2 separate regions of the Homo sapiens genome follow, and region 2 is linked to region 1. Evidence: promoter capture Hi-C in 16 types of primary human blood cells and fetal thymus (Javierre and others, 2016). All regions are on one chromosome and are shown on one strand. The core of a region is centred on a gene start or on the middle of the fragment in contact, and the rest is flanking DNA. Distances in the headings are between cores, read along the strand shown.

Region 1 (3,894 bases), core at 545-3,044:
GGTGCTCATCGCTCTGAACTTCCCCCTTTACATGGTTTCTGCCTTGGCCAGACACTTTTCCATGACCTTCTAATCTCCCTCTGATCTCACCATTCTTGCCATCTCTGCAACACTCATGGCTGTTTATACTTCATTTCCGTCTATTGTAATGGTTATGAGGAATCAGACTTGTCAGAGAATTCTGTAGGAGATGATATGTACATGGAAATCCTAGAGGCCATGACTTGGAAGAAGGATCTAATCAGGCCCTTAACTGTATCACTGACAACAGTAAAAATAACTGTAGATTTTAGAAAAATGAAATTTTTATTCTCAATTCTCCTCATTTCTTCTTTGATTTTGAAACAAAATGAAAGGGTAACATGAAAAACAGGCTAGAAACTGGAGCTTATTGCTCTCTAAGCAATGCAAATCACATCATTTTAATAAACTACAGAAGTCAAAACCGAGTTTTCATATTTTGCATGGGAAGTATCACATTTTTAAAAATTACTGCAGATAATCAAGTTTTCTTTGCCAATATGCTATGTTTTTGATAAAAGGAAGTAGAAAATAGCTATAGTTTGAAAATAATATATTTTAAAAAGAGGTGAGCCTGTATATTTTTTAGGCAAGCACTTTTCTTAGGGGAATTAGCTAAATTATTATCTCAATTTTCTATGTAGTTTAGCCTCTCAACACCGGTAGTAAAGTAGTCAAAAACCTACCTTTATATTTCTGGATACTTTGGTTTTTTTGATGCCAGACTAGCTTTCTGGAAACGTGTCAGTTGGCTACCAGGATCGGTGGCAAATTCCACTGCCAGGCTAGATTGGGGCAGGTGGGGAGAGAGAGGCACTATGTCTCTATCAGAAAGTCACTGAAGAAACACTGTTTTTGGACGAGTTCAAGCCTCATCTAGATTTTTAGTCCAGTAGAAGATCGCGACCACCTCTGCCCCTCCATAGCCTACAGCCAGAGTTTTAGAGTACCAGGCCTTGCAGCTTGGTGGAGATGATGTACAATGGATGCTACCTGGAGGCAGGGACTGTGTATTATAATGGCGCCGTCCCCTGTGCCTAGTACACCGTAGTTTGACACAAAATAAGCACTTTGTAAATTTAGTCCGAAGGAATGGAAATCTCATCCTACAATCCATTCAGTTATTAATAGAGCAACTGAGGCCCAGAGACGGGCAGTGGCCTGCCTGCCTACAGCTTCGTAGAGAGTTCTCAGCATGCTTACTTTTTTTTTTTGAGATGGAGTCTTGCTCTGTCGCCCAGGCTGGAGTGCAGTGGCGCGATCTTGGCCCACTGCAGCTTCCATCTCCTGGGTTCAAGTGGTTCTCCTGCCTCAGCCTCCCGAGTAGCTGGGACTACAGGCAGCCACCACCACGCCCAGATAATTTTTGTATTTTTAGTAGAGATGGGGCTTCACCATGTTGGCCAGGGTGGTCTCGAACTCCTGGCTTCAGGTGATCCACCCGCCTTGGCCTCTCAAAGTGTTGGGATTACAGGTGTGAGCCACCATGCCTGGCCCAGTGTTCTTTTCATGAAAATAAAATTTCTTTTTTTATATAGCATATGAGCTCATAACTGGCACTGTATAGCACCTGAGCATGTTTTGATTTGGTCTTTCTTGTTGAGGGGCCTTGTTACGTTATACCCTGGTGTCTAGACTTTGGCCCAAAACCTTTGAGATGGAGAGCCGGTGTCTGTGGTACTGTTTGCAATCTCTGGTTCTACACTCAGGGTTCATTCATGTAGATGCAAATACAGATGGTATCATAACTTCCAACCTCTCTGTTCCTCATCACAGCTGTTCAGTCTCGCTTGAAGACAGATTACGGAAGGACGAGGCCAAATCCAGATTTTGTGGTGTGAAAATTTACCCTGGTGTGTTATCACTACCAGGGGATCTGACCTCAGCCAGGAGCAGTGAGAGCCTCCTCTCCCCAGCCATGCTGAGCGCTGGCCTAGGACTGCTGATGCTGGTGGCAGTGGTTGAATTTCTCATCGGTTTAATTGGAAATGGAAGCCTGGTGGTCTGGAGTTTTAGAGAATGGATCAGAAAATTCAACTGGTCCTCATATAACCTCATTATCCTGGGCCTGGCTGGCTGCCGATTTCTCCTGCAGTGGCTGATCATTTTGGACTTAAGCTTGTTTCCACTTTTCCAGAGCAGCCGTTGGCTTCGCTATCTTAGTATCTTCTGGGTCCTGGTAAGCCAGGCCAGCTTATGGTTTGCCACCTTCCTCAGTGTCTTCTATTGCAAGAAGATCACGACCTTCGATCGCCCGGCCTACTTGTGGCTGAAGCAGAGGGCCTATAACCTGAGTCTCTGGTGCCTTCTGGGCTACTTTATAATCAATTTGTTACTTACAGTCCAAATTGGCTTAACATTCTATCATCCTCCCCAAGGAAACAGCAGCATTCGGTATCCCTTTGAAAGCTGGCAGTACCTGTATGCATTTCAGCTCAATTCAGGAAGTTATTTGCCTTTAGTGGTGTTTCTTGTTTCCTCTGGGATGCTGATTGTCTCTTTGTATACACACCACAAGAAGATGAAGGTCCATTCAGCTGGTAGGAGGGATGTCCGGGCCAAGGCTCACATCACTGCGCTGAAGTCCTTGGGCTGCTTCCTCTTACTTCACCTGGTTTATATCATGGCCAGCCCCTTCTCCATCACCTCCAAGACTTATCCTCCTGATCTCACCAGTGTCTTCATCTGGGAGACACTCATGGCAGCCTATCCTTCTCTTCATTCTCTCATATTGATCATGGGGATTCCTAGGGTGAAGCAGACTTGTCAGAAGATCCTGTGGAAGACAGTGTGTGCTCGGAGATGCTGGGGCCCATGATCTGGGAAGAAAAGTGTGGTCAGGACACTCTTGGGACGCTCTTTTGATAGCTCTCTATAAGGGAGCTGCTTTCCATGTCTTTTAAGATTTTCCTTCTTTTACACCAATGTAATGAATGAGCAACAGAAAATACGGATCAAAACCCAATACTATGTCTCTTTTGGCAATGCAAAGTATATTTTTTTAATGTACCACAGAAATCAAGGCTAGGGCTTCATGTTTGGTAAAAGAGGTATTATATTCTCTCTACATATAGCAAATAATTCATATATAAATCGTGTTTTTCCTATTATAAAAAGCAGAGATTAGGAACAATTCTGTCTACATATAGCAAAAATTCATATATAAATTGTGTTTTTCCTAGTATAGAAAACAGAGATTAGGAACAATTATAGTGATCATTAATTTTTATGAAATTTTACCTATACATTAATGTTAGTCATTTTAGATATGCTTTTTAAAAAGTATCAAATAATTTCCCCATTTCTCTGCTGTAATGTATCTAATTATCTAACTGAAAAACAAAACAAAACATCTTTATATTTCTGGAAGTTTCTTTGAGCCCTAGCCTTGGCTTTCAGAATAAAAATCAGGCTCACGCCTGTAATCCCAGCGCTTTGGGAGGCTGAGGCGGGCGGATCACGAGGTCAAGAGATCAAGACCAAATTAGCCGGGCGCGGTGGCGGGCGCCTGTAGTCCCAGCTACTCGGGAGGCTGAGGCAGGAGAATGGCGTGAACCCGGGAAGCGGAGCTTGCAGTGAGCCGAGATTGCGCCACTGCAGTCCGCAGTCCGGCCTGGGCGACAGAGCGGGACTCCGTCTCAAAAAAAAAAAAAAAAAGAGATCAAGACCATCCTGGCTAACATGATTAAACCCCATCTCTACTAAAAATACAAAAAATTAGCCTGGTGTGTTGGCGGGCACCTGTAGTCCCAGCTACTCGGGAGGCTGAGGCGGGAGAATGGCATGAACCCAGGAGGTGGAGATGGCAGTGAGCCGAGACCATGCCACTGCACTCCAGCCTGGGCAACAGAGCGAGATGCCGTCTCAAAAAAA
Region 2 (3,894 bases), core at 1,011-3,510, 410 kb after region 1:
CATCATCTAATCTTTCAACTCCCTCTCATATTCAAGCTGTTTGAAGGAACTCTTTCCATACATGATATATATATTTTTTAATTCCCATACACCTTGATGTTTCTCCCTTTACCAATCACAAATGCTGGTCATTCTGACCTTGATCAGGCTAATCTCTTAGCACATACAATCTAAAGACCAACTTACATCTATTTCCTTCATGAAACCTGCTCAGATTACTCCATCCCTCCTAATTCCCTCCTTCTCTTAACTACTAACCTGACAGTATGTTCTACATTTTAAGTTATTTCCTCTACACACCTGGGGAGAAGACCATGTCTTCTTTGCTCTTTTCTGTCCAAGCACTGAACCATTTTTATTTCTTTTTATGAAAATGCCTTTGTTTGTCAGCCCTGAGTGCCTGCATTGATGGGAGAGCTCAGCGTTTGTGGCATCAGTGGTCAGTTTTGTTCACTGACTCTTCCCTGCTGACCTTCATGCTACATCCTCTGCTGACCTTGAGGTTCACAATATTGAGGTTCATAATATGCCCTGCTGCATATGCTCTGTGTGCTTTTGCTAGTTTCTCAGGATCTTGACTGTGCTTTCCAACCTAGATTCCAGATATTTATGCATTTACCTCTCTGGCCACAGTTCCACAAACTCCTTTGCAGGTTTCCCTTCCCAGTCTTTCCAAGCCTATGCTCCTTCCACACCTGGGTTCAGTCATCTTTTTTTTTCTTCACACCATGTAGCTTTTCCCTTGGATAAGCACAAACACATACTACTGGCTTTAAATACACTCTGGATTCAGATGGCCCCCAAATCTTTGTTCCCAACCCAAACCTCTCTTGAGCCTCAAACCTAGAATTGCCCATAGCTGTCTCATTTATGATGTCCCATAGGCACTTCAAATCTAATACTTAAAATGTTGAACTATTTATCTCTCCCTTAAACCTGTCCTCCTGCAGTCTTTTCTTTCTTCTTCTTTTTTTTTTTTTTAAGATGGAGTCTCGCTCTGTCACCCAGGCTGGAGTGCAGTGGCACGATTTCGACTCACTGCAACCTCCATCTCCTGGGTTCAAGCAATTCTCCTGCCTCAGCCTCCCTAGTAGCTGCAATTAGAGTTGCATGCCACCATGCCCAGCTAATTTTGCATTTTTATTAAAGACAGGGTTTTGCCATGTTGGCCAGGCTAGTCTCGAACTGCTGACTTCAGGTGATCCATCTGCCTGGGCCTCCCAAAGAGTTGGGAATACAGGCGTGAGCCACTGCGCCCGGCCCCTCCAGCATTCTTTATTTTAGTGAAAGGAACCAAGTTTAACTAGTCATTAGGTCATCCTAGATTCTCTTTCTTTTCCTGCTTTCAGTTGGTGACTCAGTTCTTTGCATCAGTCACTACTCTATCTTCCTGCCTTATTCCAGGCCTTCATTATCTCTCATCTAGACTGTTATAAAAATCTAAGCTATCCTCACCCCCATTTCTTTATCACACATACATACATATGCATTCTTCCAATTTGTGTATGGTTAAATCTATACCTTTTACTTCATTATGTTTTGTCCATTGTTTTTATTTGAAATTCCTTTCTCTTGTAGAAATCAGGTGGTTTATATATTCTTTCAGTTTTAATAGAACATGTGTGTATGTGTGTGTGTGTGTGTGTGTGTGTGTGTGTGTATTTCCATTCATTTTTGGATTTGTTTTGGTGTGAAAAATTGGAAATAACCCAAATGGATTAGTTTACACAACAGTAGTCAGCTACTTTTCCTGACATCATTTATTGACTAATTCATCTGTGTCTATTGATCTGTGATGCTTTTTTAAGCAAATACTTGGATTGTATACATACTAGGATCTATTAGTAGACTTTCTCTTTTGTTCAGTTGATTTTTCCCTCACACAGTTGTTGTTATTTTCTAAGGGTGCGTGCAGATGATCCATCTTCCACTGAAAGATAAACATCTTTTATGTATATTTGCCTCTGTGTGCAAAACATGTCTCGCTTTTTGAGGTACAGAAAAGCAGAGTGAATATTTCCAAAATGCTGTAGCTTTTATTTGGATCCCAGATCTGCCTCCTTATTCTTTTTTTCCCTCTTCCCCTGTCTGCCATGTGACTACAGACACACGTGCACCACCCTGCCCAGCTAATTTTATTTTTTTGTAGAGACAGGGTCTCAATGTGTTGCCTAGGCTGGTCTTGAACTTCTGGCCTCAAGCAGTCCTTCTGCCTTGGCCTCCCAAGGTGCTGGGATTACATGTGTGAGTTTCTGTGCCTGGCCTCCTTTTTACTCTTTTTTTTTTTTTTTTTTTTTTTTTTTTGAGACAGAGTCTTGCTCTATCACCTAGGCTGAAGGGCAGTGGCACGATCTCAGCTCACTGCAACCTCCATCTCCTCAGGTTCAAGTGATTCTCCTACCTCAGCCTCCTGGGTAGCTGGGATTAGAGGTATGCACACCACACCCGGCTAATTTTTTTTTTTTTTAGTAGAGACAGGGTTTCACCATGTTGGCCAGGCTGGTCTTGAATTCCTGACCTCAAGTGATCCACCCACCTTGACCTCCCAAAATGCTGGGATTACAGGTGTGAGCCACCACACCCAGACCTCTTTACCCTTTAAATGACCTTTGGTAAGCATTTTAAAGATCATCTTATTTTGTCCAGCTCACTATTTTCAGGCGAATGCCTTTCTAACTTCTCTGAATCTTAGCTTCCTAACAGTAAAAGGAGTGCAAGGAAACCTTTTCATGATGTTATGAGACACCACATAGGAAAGTGACCGGTATAATACTGGAATAGAGGAATTGTTCCATAAATAGCTATATTACGCCTCACTCCCACCCCTTTCTCTTACTCCAGGGTGATAGTTAATTAACCAGATTTTTCAAAAATGAAACCCACATTCTACGTGCAGATATACCTCTAGTCTTGCTGTGAAGTTTGTTGGGATCTTTAGCATGGCTTTGAGACAGCAGATTCTTTCAGGGAAGAAGTTATCTGACTCGGACCGAAGTACCCTCACCCTCTCATGCTCCAAGCTGCAGTTATTCTCTGTAAAGGAGTTTGTTTCTTCAACTCACCTCTTTATTCCCCTCCCACCAGAGCTGTGCAGGAGGTGACAGGACAGCGAGGGGTCATCATCACCCGCTCCACATTTCCCTCTTCTGGACGCTGGGGAGGACACCGGTTGGGAAACAACACAGCTGCATGGGACCAGCTGGGGAAATCTATCATTGGTGTGTGGGCTCATTCCCAGGGGCCTGTGCTGGCAGGGAGGGCACTGGAGTTTGTGCTGTTCAACAGCACTGGTTATGTCTCTATCATCATCTAGGTGGGTGGTAAAATTAACAAGAACTGAGTTCTCTCTGGGCGTGGATTTTAATTTACACCCATCTTTTAATATTTTCATCATGGTCCAGGGCTTTCTAATGGGGTAAGGAAAAATCAGGCCAAGCCTTCACTCTCCTCCCAAAGTGCTCCTTCCTCCAACACAGCTGTGTCTTCTCTTTGCAGGCATGATGGAGTTCAGTCTCTTTGGAATACCTTATGTAAGTCACATTCAGACCATTACTAATTGCCCAGTCAGATTTTAGTGAGTCAGCGCCTCATGAAATTCCCACCTCATGCTCTCATTATGCATCTTCTCAGACAGGAGCAGATATCTGTGGGTTCTTTGGAGATGCTGAATATGAGATGTGTGTTCGCTGGATGCAACTGGGGGCATTTTATCCATTTTCCAGAAACCACAACAACATCGGGACAAGGGTGAGGCAGTAGTTCGTGCTCCAGGTGTTGTGTACCCTCAAATCATAACTTCTTTTTAACCCCCAGGACTATTATACTCATTTCCTGAGAAAAATCAAAAAACATCACCAGAATCTTAATTTCTTGGAAAATCCACAGAGTTCAGAA

Evidence for each region. Contacts are between HindIII fragments. The CHiCAGO score rates a contact against its expected background, and 5 or more counts as called.
Region 2: a contact is called between a fragment that was not itself captured here and the fragment with the promoter of TAS2R5 in region 1, in 1 of 17 cell types (M2 macrophages). The highest score is 5.9, in M2 macrophages.

The regions. Positions count from the first base shown.
Region 1 is chr7:141,788,423-141,792,316 of GRCh38, forward strand. It overlaps TAS2R5 (taste 2 receptor member 5), which reads left to right and starts at 1,795. Exons shown (of 1, transcript NM_018980.3): 1 at 1,795-2,945. The coding sequence starts at 1,940. The coding sequence ends at 2,839. It also overlaps the pseudogene TAS2R6P. The HindIII fragment of the contact is 7,447 bases long and covers 1-2,137 here.
Region 2 is chr7:142,193,070-142,196,963 of GRCh38, forward strand. MGAM2 (maltase-glucoamylase 2 (putative)) reads left to right here. Exons shown (of 48, transcript NM_001293626.2): 38 at 3,085-3,218; 39 at 3,496-3,530; 40 at 3,631-3,747. Among named protein-coding and RNA genes, the nearest start is that of PRSS58, 63 kb to the right of the region's middle. RefSeq lists an enhancer at 3,022-3,894. The HindIII fragment of the contact is 5,144 bases long and covers 1-3,894 here.